Linked DNA regions of Homo sapiens: regions 1, 3 and 4 are each linked to region 2. The links are contacts of gene promoters, found by promoter capture Hi-C in blood cells and fetal thymus (Javierre and others, 2016). All regions are on one chromosome and are shown on one strand. Each heading gives the region's core, a stretch centred on a gene start or on the middle of the fragment in contact. The rest is flanking DNA. Distances are from core to core; before and after follow the strand shown.

The links. Contacts are between HindIII fragments. The CHiCAGO score rates a contact against its expected background, and 5 or more counts as called.
Region 1: a contact is called between a fragment that was not itself captured here and the fragment with the promoter of EPC2 in region 2, in 1 of 17 cell types (total B cells). The highest score is 5.7, in total B cells.
Region 3: a fragment that was not itself captured here is called in contact with the fragment with the promoter of EPC2 in region 2 in 3 of 17 cell types (naive CD8 T cells, naive B cells and total B cells); the score reaches 6.0 in naive CD8 T cells.
Region 4: a fragment that was not itself captured here is called in contact with the fragment with the promoter of EPC2 in region 2 in 1 of 17 cell types (naive CD8 T cells); the score reaches 5.4 in naive CD8 T cells.

The regions. Positions count from the first base shown.
Region 1 is chr2:147,852,153-147,855,552 of GRCh38, forward strand. All of the region lies in intron 1 of ACVR2A (activin A receptor type 2A), which reads left to right. Among named protein-coding and RNA genes, the nearest start is that of ACVR2A, 8.8 kb to the left of the region's middle. The HindIII fragment of the contact is 599 bases long and covers 1,696-2,294 here.
Region 2 is chr2:148,642,943-148,646,321 of GRCh38, forward strand. EPC2 (enhancer of polycomb 2) reads left to right here and starts at 1,809. Exons shown (of 14, transcript NM_015630.4): 1 at 1,809-2,228. The coding sequence starts at 2,076. RefSeq lists silencers at 1,463-2,042, 2,803-2,892 and enhancers at 1,882-2,386, 2,983-3,132. The HindIII fragment of the contact is 14,369 bases long and covers 113-3,379 here.
Region 3 is chr2:148,045,917-148,049,587 of GRCh38, forward strand. All of the region lies in intron 1 of MBD5 (methyl-CpG binding domain protein 5), which reads left to right. The region is part of intron 1 of LOC105373673 (a long non-coding RNA gene); the gene reads right to left. Among named protein-coding and RNA genes, the nearest start is that of MBD5, 27 kb to the left of the region's middle. RefSeq lists an enhancer at 2,552-2,641. The HindIII fragment of the contact is 7,418 bases long and covers 1-3,671 here.
Region 4 is chr2:148,062,245-148,065,383 of GRCh38, forward strand. All of the region lies in intron 1 of MBD5 (methyl-CpG binding domain protein 5), which reads left to right. The region is part of intron 1 of LOC105373673 (a long non-coding RNA gene); the gene reads right to left. Among named protein-coding and RNA genes, the nearest start is that of MBD5, 43 kb to the left of the region's middle. The HindIII fragment of the contact is 4,081 bases long and covers 1-3,139 here.

The sequences.
Region 1 (3,400 bases), core at 745-3,244, 790 kb before region 2:
TCCATGGCTTTCATACTTTTTTGACTGTAATACACAATAGGAATTACACATTGCATTATGACTTAGTTCCCATGTAGTAGTAGGGGTGTATGTATATATGTCTGTGTGCATCAGAAATGAAAGTTTCATGAACTGTGTACTCTTAACTATGTGCAGGACACTTATGTATTTTTATATTACATTTCATTTAAAAAACATTGATCGTGACCCATTAATTGATTCATTGACCAACTAATGGATTGTAAATCCCTAAAACCAGTGACCTAGTTCAACAATCCTTATTTCCTGTATTCAGTACTCTCTTAGTGGAAAAGGAAGCTTCATATGTAAATGTGTGCAATGAAAAATATATGCACTGAAAAATATGGTCATTAATTAATCTACAATAGAGACTGTGTGCCTAGGTATAGAATATAGGGAAAACTGGTCTCAAGGGAGAACATGGCTCTTCCCTGATTAAGGTCTTCTCTCTTTTGGACTAGTCGAATAAATTAAGCACACACGAAGGCGCTGAAACAACATTAGATTGTAATTTTGGGGAGTTGGGATTTTTTAATTTAGGAAAGACTTGCTGGACTTAGTACTGGAAAAAAAGTCTTAGACGGAGATTAGGAAGGATGTTAATATGAAGGAAAAGACACAAAATAGCATCAGGAACACAATAGCCATTTGAGAGTAAACTTGACCATGGATGAAGGCAAGGTGGGATGGAGAAATTTTGACTAAATCTGAGGAAGAGATTTGTGTGATGAAGAGAGTTCACAATTGCTTGAAGAAGTAGGACAATCTCAGGGGGTTAACCCTTAAATTCAAATGAAAAGTAATTAAAACTGAGGAGGTAAGAGTGGATGATACATATCCTGATGTATGTCCCAAATACCCCATATGTGGATATAGGACTGAAAAGCAACTCGAAGACTAAGGTAGAATGGTAGCACTACTAAATAAAATTGGTAAGGAAGTAATGAGCCAGAGGAAAATTGAAAGTGCCTTCATAACTAAAAAAGTTTACAGATAGATATAGTTTTAGATGATAAGCATGAATAGAAATAAAGACATGTATTTGGAAAAATAAGAGTACATAATAAAACATGATAACGTAATATTCTCTTAAAGAGGCAGACACTGTATGATGGATATGTCTTCATTGTGAAGTCTAGTTAAAGAATTCTAAACATTAGTGGCTCAATATGTTGTTTATGTTTAAATGATGGTCAAATTTCAGTAATTACTCATACTGGTCATCCAGATTATATTCTTTGAAATCTGTATGAGACCCTACAGTAAAATACACTGTTCTAAGGAAGTAGATTTAGATGCTTTTCTGAATTTGGTATATGGTATTCACGCTTGAAACCTAAACTTTTCAGTGACCATTCTTTTGGACTAGTTTTTTCTTTGGTTGGCTGTAGTCACACTGGGAATTACTTTATTCTCTAATATTGCTAAAGAAAATAAATGTAAAGCAAGAAGAGAGTTACTACATTAGAAGGACTGGCTACACATGTGGGGAGGGGTTGCCTTTCAAAAGATTTTAAAAATGAATCAAGTCTTTACATATTGTAATAAAAGTAAGCCTATTTATAAAGCTTAGAGGGAGGAGTTTTCGTAGTTATGATTATTAACTTTAAAATTTTTATTTTAAAGGAAAAGTTTATTGTTCTTCCCATCTTCATAACTATATGTGATATATCAAGCTTGCTCCAAGGCATTATTTCAAGAGGAAGGGGCATGGACAAGTTATGAGATCTTGGCACATTTCTAAAACTCTGAGATTAACTTTTAAAATTTGTAAACCAAGATGTATTAAATGAATTGATAACTCCACATAACATGGTAGCTGGTCCAGAGTAGATCTTACATATTAGTTTTTAATCTATCTTTAAGTCCCATTTAAAAGGATATGGTATGTAAAACATTAAAAAATATAGATTTGGTTCTTGGGGGATATTTACATTTGCAGGTTACTTATCAGTCAGTTAATGTGAAATAATACTCTGACTAAATGATACAGCCAAAGAACATATCATTATAGAGAGCCAGATAGCTGCCAATAAATATCTAGAATATTCAGATATCGTGGTTCCTTACAAAGAGTTCTTTAAGGTCTCACTGTTTTAGCATGCATTAAAAAGAAACAATGGACTAAATCGTCTCTATTTATTAGTGGGAATTTAAAATATCTTTTTTTCTTGGACAACTTCTCTTAAACTTTTTAAGTGTTTTAAAACTTTTTAGTAGAAGTAAAGTTTTGAAAGATTCTCAAGTCTGTTTTTTAGGTACCAGCTACTTTAAGCTTTGAAAACACAAAGCTATTCAATGACTGTACTTTGAGATCAATATTTTGAATGTGGTATAATATTTTGGACTAAAACTTAAGAGTCTGTCATTCAAATTCCTACTTTCCTACTGACTCTTCTTTGACCTTTGACAGCCATTAAGATTTCACTTTACTCACCCTAAATTAAAGAGGGTGAAATAGGTATTCATTCACTTAACAAATCAATATTGAACTACATGCTAGACACTATGGTAAGTGCTTGGGATACATTATTAAACATGAAGACAGATATGATTATGCCTTTCTGAAGCTTATAGTCATAAAGTAAGTAGTCAAATGAACAACATAATTACAGATTGTCATACGTGCTCGGACAGAAACTAACAGGGTGCCGAGAGGATTACTCTTTATTTGCCTTATCACATATCACATCTGTTTACTTTATCTGCCTATTTCTTTTTTTTTTGAGACTGAGTCTCGCTCTGTTGGCCAGGCTGGAGTGCAGTGGTGCAATCTTGGCTTACCACAACCCCAGCCTTCCAGTTCAAGTGATTCTCCTGCCTCAGCCTCCTGAGTAACTGGGACTACAGGCATGCGCCACCATGCCTGGCTAATTTTTGTATTTTTGGTAGAGAGGGGGTTTAACCATGTTGGGCAGGCTGGTCTCGAACTCCTGTCTCAAGTGATCTGCCCTCCTTGGCCTCCCAAAGTGCTGGGATTACAGGTGTGAGCCACCGCGCCTGGCCTATTTCTTATTTGTCCTTTCTAATATTAGAATGTAAGCTCTACTGGGGTGGGGAAGGGTGTGACTTTTTCTTAATACTTCCAATGCATGGCACAGTTTCTGGCACAGAGGCGAAGCTCAGTGAATATTTAACTAGCTGCCTGAAGCAATGAATGCAGTGATGGGACTGGAGAGATAGGGACAGGATCATGCAGGTCTTTGATGTAACAGGGGAAGGAGTTAGAATAAAATGCAAATGGCAGTGTGAAGCAAAGAGTTTTAAGGAAGAGCAGATCTGGGTTATGTGTTGAGATCACTTTGGCAGCTATCTGAAAAACATACTGGAAGAGTGTAGGAGGGAAGAGGTGAGACCATTAGGAACCTGTTGCATCAGT
Region 2 (3,379 bases), core at 559-3,058:
CCCTTTCAGGCTTGAACCCAGTGCTGACCCCCTCCCAAGAACTTCTTGTTCTTGCTTCCAGAGGATTGGAACTGTTCCAGGGGTAGCACTTAGAGAGCAGGACATGCCCATAAGCTTGAGGAAGGTACTGCTTACAAGAAATGAGTCACAGCAACTCCATTGCTTCCAACAACAAAGTGGATGAAAAACACTCAAGCCCCACTAAACAATACTCGGAGTTTTGCTGCGACAGACTGGTTAGACTATTTGGACACTACCATGAAGACTATATCCACCATTCTGCCTTCAAAGGAGGAGACTGCAGAGAGAAAAGGGGAAGAGGAACAGGAGGAAAAAGGGGGAGGGGAGGAAGTGGAGGAGGGGAAGAAGGACGTAATAGAGGAAGAGATATAGTTTTATTGTCACATAGAAATGACAGTAGGAATCAATTTTTTCACTGTTGGTCTTTAGGAAATCATCTGACTTTCTCTGAGTTAGAGTATGATCGATTATTAGAAAATGGTAAAATGTGTTAAAAACTCTCTTTGTACGGTTTTGTGAGAAATGTGTAATGCTTAAAGACTAACCAAGAGCCTCTTGGCTAAACCAGGTTGATGTCAACAATAGCTAGTACTTATTTGAGTCACCTTGATTTTCCCTCCTCTTGAGAACTTTCTCTAACCAGTTTAGGCTGCAGTCATGCCTCCTTTCCTTTCTCTGAACTCTCACAATTATTGCCTAGATCTCGTTTGGTAATTAATCATGTGCTACTTACTGCCTGTGTCATCTCTTGTATTGTTTTCTTAAAATATTTACACTTTTTTTTCGGTTGTCACTTATCTTTCCAGCTGTCATTTTCTTCAACTATTTACGTCTCTGTTACTCATCTTTCCAGCCATCCTGGCATCCCATTAAGGTGAAAGCTCTCTGAGGCAGGAACCTTTTCTCAGATTTCTTCGAGTCTTCCACAGCACCCCACATTTGACACACATCTGCTACTTCGCAAATGTGTGCTGCCTTGGCTAAATTTTTAGAAGCTGAACTTTTAGGAAAGCTACTATTTTTGAACTCAGAAAAATACCTACCATCCACTAAACAGCTGTACCGAAGTTTGGGTGACAGGGAACCTAAGTTCACTTGTTGCATCTGGCAGCCTCAAACCATGAACCCTCACTGCAAAGCGAGGATGAACGCGCTGCTGCACCTTGGAGAGCTCTTTCGGACAGGTACGGAGGGGAGGGCGTAGAAGAGGGCTGGCACCAGCAGCGCGGTCCAGTCCTCCGAACGGACTGATGGGACTGATGGGAGAGACCTCTTGCACCTCTCGGGGATGTGCGCCTCGGAGGATGCGAATTAGCTTGCGCACAGGGCGCCTTGGGGATAGCGCTGTCCAAGTACAGGCTTGGGTGATGGCTGGTGGGGTCCGGGTCGACATTTTCCCTTCCCGCTCCCGGACTTCTGCACACACGCGCTGCTCGGCGCAGCCGTCTTTGCCCGGCGCCTTCCTCCGGGACACCCAGCGAGAGGGGTGACCGGGCGGCGGCGGGAGAGGCGCACGCTCCCGGGCGCGGGCGAACTTGCGCACCTGGCACCTGCCACACAGCGAAAGCACCGGCCAGCGAGCGGAGGGGCGCCGCCCCCGCCCCCTCTCCCCGGAGCGGACCGAGACCGAGCACGCTCCCGCGGGCCGGCAGCGCCGCGGAGAGAGTGGGTGGGCAGGCGAGGGAGGGGAAGGGAGAGGAAGGAGGGAGGGAGGGAGAGGGCGAGGCGCGTTCCCGCGACGGGGGCGCGCTCTCGCGCGGGCTGCCGGGATCGCTCGCCGCCGCTGTGGTAATGTCCGCCATGTTGGCCATGGCGCAGGGAGCGGATCGGGCGGGCGAGCGGCGGATCTAGTGTGTGGAGGCGGCCGCGGGCGCGGGGGGCTGTTTTCGGGCGGGGTGGGCGCCCATGCTGTGGCCGGGGGCAGTGAGGAGGAGGAGGAGCGGGCCGGCCGCGCTGCACTGAGGAAGGAGGTGGAGGAGGCGGCGGGAGTCCTCCCCCCCTCCCCGCCCGCCCCGCCGCCGCCGCCCGGGCTGTTCCTGTAAGGCGGGGAGACAATGAGTAAACTCTCCTTCCGAGCGCGGGCGCTGGACGCCGCCAAGCCGCTGCCTATCTACCGCGGCAAGGACATGCCTGATCTCAACGACTGCGTCTCCATCAACCGGGCCGTGCCCCAGATGCCCACCGGGATGGAGAAGGAGGAGGAATCGGTAGGGACTCGAGTGTTTATTACCCCCCCTTCCCTCCTCCCCCCTCCCCTTTGTCAGTCGGGCCTCGCCATTCACAGAGCGCTTTACGCTCGCTGGAGGGCGCCGCTGCCGCTCTAACGCACGGGACTCTACGCCGGCGGAGTAGCGTAAACCCTCTCGGCCGGCGTAGCGCCCGCCCGCGGCCGCCATGTTGTTGCGTCCCAGTGTTGTGATTAGCTCGCAGCGCTGCTTACGCTGCCGTAAGGGGGCCTTGCCGTAAGCGGCGGCCGGGAATGGCGCAGGGGATGCGCTGGCCGCTCTTGGCGTACGGTCTCTGTTTACCTTTCCACCTCCCTCTCTCAGGCGCGGGGCTAATTAATGGCGTGGTATTATTTGGCTAGGCAAGATTATTATTTTTTCCACTTTTAACTTTGGCTTTGTATTGAGTTCTCTTTGAAATGACTGTGGAAGGGTGCTTTCAAAACAAACATCTTCCTCCCAGCAATGTAATCATCCTGGCTCCCCCGCCCGCGAAGGTGCAGCGGGATGAGGCGGTGCAGCACTGCGGCGGGGGAGGGCGGGGGCCACGACTACCGAGCGGGTCGTAGCGTCCGAGGGCCGCCCGCCGGCCAGTTCTGCCGACCCGAGCCGGGCGCGGGGCGGACGGGCTCTGCCTGCTCCGCCTGGACGGCCGTGCTCCGTGCGCAACGTTAGAGAGGAGCCGGGGATGCCCGGAAGCGAGCCGCCGGCGTTGCGTTGTCCTCGAGAATTGTCATTGCGAGGTGGTCCTTAGAAGTTGAGGACCTAGTGCATCTAAATTGGCAGTTGTAATTTTGATAATACAGCACCTTTTGGGAAAATTGCTGCTTTTCCTCCGATGGGTTAAATTTTGCAGACGGTTGGATTTCATCTGGCTTGACAGAGAGTGTTTATGACTCGAGTGGTGTTACTTGCGTGCGAAGTTCATAGTAACTGCACCCTCAAGAATTTCTTCAATGAACCTACAGTCCCGCCTTATTGTCAACCTCGGGTGTGTGTGGATTGGTTCTCTTGCTTCAGTGACTGTCAAAAGGAAGCTCGAGGTTTCAGTGATTGGTTTTCTCTTTTGACTATTAATATTGCAGGAAATGCTTTTATGCCTTCGATTGGCTGGTTGAGTTCTGACCTCATTA
Region 3 (3,671 bases), core at 640-3,139, 600 kb before region 2:
CACACTAGTCAAACAGTTCACCAAGGGCTTGTTGTTAGTATTGTCTTAATGAAGTGCCTTTTTTTTTTTTTTTTTTTTTTTTTTTTGAGACAGAGTCTCGCGGTGTTGCCAGGCTGGAGTGCAGTGGTGCAATCTCGGCTCACCACAACCTCCGCCTCCCAGGTTCAAGTGATCCTCCTGCCTCAGCCCCTCGAGTAGCTGGGACTACAGGCGTGTGCCATCACACCCAGCTAATTTTTGTATTTTTAGTAGAGACGGGGTTTCACCATGTTGGCCAGGACGGTTTTGATCTCTTGACCTTGTGATCCGCCCACCTTGGCCTCCCAAAGTGCTGGGATTACAGGCATGAGCCACTGCACCCAACCTTAATGAAGGCTTTTTATACACTAGTGATGTTATGAAAGAAATAAAATACAAGGTTTTCGAAGTTTTGTGATTGGTTGAGAAATCTACTTAAACACATCAAAATAATTCAGCATATGATTAAGTTGTAGACTGAGTGGTTAGCAGTATAAGTCCCTGAGGTCTTTCAAACTGAGTATTTATGTAATTACTCATTAACATCTCCCACAAACCTCTTTTGCTTGTATTTACTTTCTTGGATGGTGCTGTCCCTGTCTACCCCAATTCCCCAAGTTAGAAATATCATAGTCCTCTTCCACCCCTTCTTTACCTCCATAGTCAGCCTATCACCAAATCGTATAGAATTGTTTTCCTTCCTAATTCCTAAGTCCGCTCAGTTCTATCTTTGTGTTATGCACATTGCTGCTAGTTTAGTTCATTCCTTGACTAGAGAATGGTAGTAAGTAATCTCCTTAGCTAATTAATCTGCCTCTGACTTTTCTGTACTCTGGGCCATATTCTGTCTTTTGCTGAGTTGTTACCAAACATAAACCTGGTTATGTCACTACCCTAATTAAAAACCTTGTGGATTGTTCCTTTTTATTGGTTTATATAAAATCCTATTTTCAATCTGAAGTATAAGCCCTTCATCTTTATATCTTATGTCAACTTAGACCTCCAGCTTCATCTCCCATTACTTTTCCCCTTATGATGTCTTTCATCGCAGCTAACCAACCCACTTCCTCTTCAAGATTATGTTGTGCTCCTTCAGGTCTCCTTGGCTTTATTCACATGCTGTCTTTTGTACAGTGCCTCTTGCCTTATCCACTGTCTCCCCCAACATAGTTTTACTGCAAATCCCAAATCAGGTGTCACTTCTTATCAAATCATCCTGGCCATCCTCAATTTTCCCCTTCTTAGTTAATGATGCACTCATTTAACTTTTATGATCATATAAGATGGTTGTTTTTTTACTTCTAGTGTCAGTCACCAAGATTATCAAGTTCTTGCTTTGTTTTCTTTTGCATCTTCAAATCTAGCTCAAGCCATAACTAAGACCATGACCTTTACTAAGGGTCATACAAACCTGAATTGAAGTAAGGGCTCTGCAACCAAAAGAAATGGAGTACATTTTGCGTGGAGACAGAGGAAGTTTTAAAAAGGATCATGGGCAATGGCAATTCTAGATGTTTTTTACATCCTGCTTGGCCAGAATTAAGCAGATAATACCTGAATATACGAGAAGGCCAAATTGGGAGATGTAGAAATTGTTAACCAATATTTTTACCAAGTGCCTTGATAAATGTTTGTGTTTGTGCCACACAGGCACTAGGGGTACAAAGATGAATAAGAAAGGAACTCTGCCTTTGAAGAAATTTAGAGTGACTAGGGGAGAAAGACATGTAAATAAATGTATAAGGTCATCTAGAGTATTCATTTAATGAAGTAATTGTAAAGAACAGCAAGCAACCACTTAGGATGAGAATACCTCCTTTGGCAGAATGGCCCTAAGTCCAAAGTGATACCTTAGCTAAATTTTAAGTTATGAGTTGGAATTCTACAATTGCATAAGATGGTAAGGGCTTCCTAGACTAAGAGAACAGCATGTGCAAAGACACGAGTTACAAAAGCAGCAAAACTAGAGAAACCATTGTTTGTGAGATCTCATACATAGAGTTGTTTATTTTAGAAAGCCTCACAAAGAAGCCTCTAGTAAGATACTGTAGATAATTCCCAACTTAAATATGCTGTCTTGAAACAATCCTCTTATATCAATTTATTCATTGTTCTTTCCCTTTGAAGTCTAAGGTGGATAGGGGCATAAACTTTGGTGATGATTAATTTAAGTTCAGATCCTGAAACATTCTGTCTCTGTAAAGCATCATTTTACCTGTTCAAAAAAAGGTTACTAACTACCTCCTTCTCATGGTTTTTGGAAGATTCAGAGGGATAATGCATACAAAGTTGTTGACACAATGCCTGGTCCGTCTCAGTAGGACTCGAGAAATGTTAACATATATTAAGGCTCCTGATAGGCCTTTTTTGGTTTCCCACCCATTTATTTAAGAAATTGTTTTTTAAATGCTTACTACTTATTAGGTGCTGGAATTATGAAGATGAGTAAACACAACATCTGCCTTTGAAGAATTTATAGTTTAGTGAGGATATGCACATACCTATGTTGAAAATCAACAATAATAATACAACCTGGCAAATGCTTTAGTGGAGAGTTTTGTGAGAAAATAAGAACTGAGAAAAGAAGCCGCCAAATCTATTTTTGGACATTAGCAAAGTCTTCTTCAGGGAGCACTGACCTGAAGAATGAAGAGCAGTTTGCTGTTTTGGAGTTGGAGAGTAGAGAAGAGTAAGGCTTTCCAGGAATGAGGAAGAACATATTCAAAAGGAGGGTCAAGGTAACATGACTTGTTCAGTAAAAGACAAATGATAAGAAAACCACTAAAAGAGAAAAGAATGGAGTAGAAAACAGAGGACTGAATGTACTCAGGGGAAACTCTGTGGTTGAAAAGTCCCCCAGAAGGCCTAAAGTTACTACTTTGCTCCCTTGAGAAAAGAAGTGAATAAATTTCCTAGGGTGGGTATGAGATAAGCCTCTCTGTGAAAAATTGCCCTGTCTCATCCTGGGATGTTGGAATAGTCTAGTCCACTCTTCTTACATGAATTCTTGTGTACTCCCAGAAAGTACTGCAGTGCTCAAAGGGTGAGGCAGGAGGAGCAAAGAAATAGAATTTCATTAGTGATGTTAGTGTCTGAGAAGTGGTGCCAGCAAGAGTCATATTGACCACATTGTGGGAAATGGTAAAAAAGAAGCATTTTCCTGTGGTTGCTGGGAGTTTCTGGTAACATGTGATGGATTGACTGGACTGTAGCTTGACTAGACAGTGGCATCAACCTGTGTATTCACTGGTTCTCAGCTGCCCAGTGATTGTACCCAGAAACTGGACATCACCTTAGCTCTTTAGAAGCTAGAAATCTTGTGGCAAGTGGATTTCGTGCACCATCCATTCTTCACTTTGCTTTGAACCAAGGGAGGAATTTGGATAGCACTAGAAATTTATGGAAATCTGTCAGTGGGAGCTAGCCATAGAATAATTGTTATGCTGTGGTTTTGCACTCCAGCTGTATTTCTAGCTAGTTAGGACTATGGCAATATCTTTTGAACAAGAAAGCAAACAGGAAAAATAACTGAAATTTGTTGAGTAATTACTGTTTACCTAGTACTGTAGTACTTGCTTTCTGTGGGGGAGAAGGGTGGCTTTCATTTTTTATTGAGGTAAAATCCACATAGCATGAAATTTACAATTTAAATC
Region 4 (3,139 bases), core at 392-2,891, 580 kb before region 2:
GAGGAAAGCTGCAACATACTAAAGTTTGACAGTAATCCCTAGAATCTTAATTTGTAAAAAGTAAAAAACTACAAGGTTTCTACTTTCAAAACAGTTATAGTCTTTACTCAAAATGTAAATTAATAAATGTATAAAGTTTGTAATAGTATAATAATGTATAATAATAGTATAAATGAAGTTGCATAACCTGCTTTTAAAATGTGTGTAATTTTATGTATTTGACAACTTAAGCATGATAAACACTTAACTGTTTATATTCTACAAGCTCAGTGTAATGTAAAAAATTTGCTAAAGTCATTTTGTTTTAACTTCAAGTAAACAATGTTTTCTGAATTTTTTTTGGCATATGTGTGATTACTGTTACAGGTGATTAAATATCTTGTTTGAACTTTGGTTTAGGAAGTTTTAATAATTAATAGTATTTGAATCATAAAATCACTCCTGAGTTTCATTAACCATGGTGGTATGATTCTTTGGATGTTATTTCTCTTTTCTTTGCCAACATACTGTTTTATGGATTTCTCAGGTTTTACTGTTGTATTTACAACTCTAAAAGTAAGAAAAAAATCACACTCTTTTTCTAGAAAGTTTCTTAAATGCATATAGTGGTATTAACCAAATATAAATGCAGTCACTTATATTTCTTACATAGCTATAACCACCATCCTCATTAACACAATAAAGTACAACCAAGACGAAAAATAATTACAAATTATCTTGGAGAATGTCAAAATTTCTCAGCACATATTTGCGGATTCCTTGAGATCTATGACCCAGTTTGTTAAACAGTTCACTTAACCACTTTATGTTTTAGTATTCAAATAAAAACATTGCTAATAATGATATCTCCTCTTGCGTACTAATTAATAAAGAAAAACTACAAATGTTTTTCAATAAAGTTGAGGTACATGTTACTTTTATAATTTCCTTTAGGAGTTGTGGGTGGGTTGAGTACCAATGCAGCTTCATCACAATTTAAGTCATTAGTTTTGAATTTGTCTTTCCTGTGATTTCAGGATCTTTACTCATTTATTGTCTTCATTTTAGTATAATTTGCTTTTGAAAAACATCCAAATTTTAATTGATGCAAGAAATTGAAATAAAATAAATGGCAGGGATAGAAGTTGGGGATCGTTAGGGTTCTTTCCAGATTGTGTTACTCTAATGCAAGTGTCAGCACACTTTTTCTGTAAAAGGCCAGATAGTAAATATTTAGGCCTTAGGAACCTGGCTCAACTCTGCTTTTTTAGTGCAAAAGCAGCCATTGACAATACATAAATGAATGAGCATTGCTATTTTCCAAGAAAACTTTTTTTTTTTTAATACAAAAACAGGCAGCAGGTCTTAGTTTGCTGACTCCTGTGCTACACATATTTTGGATGACACTGCCTATGTGAACAAGGGCTCACTTATTTATTTTTTTAAGTGGAGATCTTAATGGCCTCTCTATTGGTGGCCTTTCCCACCACTGTACAATTTACACGTCCTGAAAAGCCTGTTAATATACCAGTTATAATATTGCTGTTTTCTTATTTTCCAATATCTAAGCCCTTTGACCTGTGGACTCTGCCCAACCTGTTCCTGAGCCAAGGTATTTAATAATCCTATTCTTGGATGGGGATTAATCTGTCTTTTTAGTCCAGTAATCACGTGCCTATATTGAGTCCATAAGTGCCAACAAGCTCTAGTTTTCTCCTACCATTGCCACCCTGTTTGCTCAGATTGAAGATTGATAATATGTCTAATACTAGCAAACTTGTTTCTCCTGGGTTCTGGTGGGACTATAGCTTCTTACACCCAAGCAGGGAGTCTTTATGCTCTTGCTCTTTCATATATAGGGTGAATCTAAAGGAAACATACTATTCCCACCAGCTGTCTTTTTTCTTTTTTTTTTTTTTTGAGACAGAGCCTCGCTCTGTCGCCCAGGCTGGAGTGCAGTGGCGCGATCTCAGCTCACTGCAAGCTCCGCCTCCCGGGTTCACGCCATTCTCCCGCCTAGTAGCTGGGACCACAGGTGCCCGCCACCACGCCCGGCTAATTTTTTGTATTTTTAGTAGAGACGGGGTTTCTCCGTGTTAGCCAGGATGGTCTCGATCTCCTGACCTCGTGATCCCCTCGCCTCGGCCTCCCAAAGTGCTGGGACCACAGGCGTGAGCCACCGCGCCCGGCCCCCACCAGCTGTCTTTAAGTACCGCCACTACACAAAGATTCTTTCCATAGTGTGCCTTCTACCAGATGAGATTATCTAGAAACTGGTAGTAGCCTGGATCAAAGCTATATTCTTCTTCATAACCCCTTGAATACTCTAATTTGGCTGCTAGATACCTTTCTTTGAGGCAAACCGATTCTCCCAGCCCCAACCCTGCCTATTCCCAGCTATTAATTATTTTGCCTAGGGCCCATCAGTCCTTACACCTGAAATCAATCTTCTCTTACTCAAGACACAAACAAATTAAAGGAGCAATAACTTTAAGATAACTTCCTGAAAAATAATTGGAGGCTTTATATTGGCTCATTTTCTTCCCCTTCATTGTTTCTTACTTTCTTCCTTACCTTTCTTCTTTCCTTCTTTTATTTCTTTAGTAATTGATGTATGAAAAACAGAATAATTACAATCTTGACCGTTCTTTCTTATATATAGCCCACTACTTTTATATTAATGTATTTCTGATAACATACCTGAGAGCTGAAATTATGTATTACAGTCACTTCCTAAAATTATGGTTCCTGCTTGTGTCCTACTTCTTTCAGGCCCCATACACCAGTAGTCAGGGGAGATTCTTCCCTGCTTTGGAGTCTGATAGAGATGGAGTTGCACAGCCAGCATCCGGAGATAATAAATTTAGAATTACCACTTTCTAAAAGGAAGATTAGGGGTTTGATAGCTGCCGACTTTATCCACAGTCTTAAATATGTAAGCCCAACCTGCTTGGGTAGTACTCAGGGAAAGGCAGACCATTTCTGCTTTCCTCTGGACCATGTATCAAGAGGGACCTAGCAGATCTTTTTTCAGTCTTTGTGATGAGCCTCTCCTGTCTTCAAATAGCCTGGTATTTTCCAGCGTTGTTAAGGTAGGAGGGGGAGGAACGTTTTGTGAGAACAGCTTTAAGATTGGAGGAGGCTGGACCAGTAGACCTGT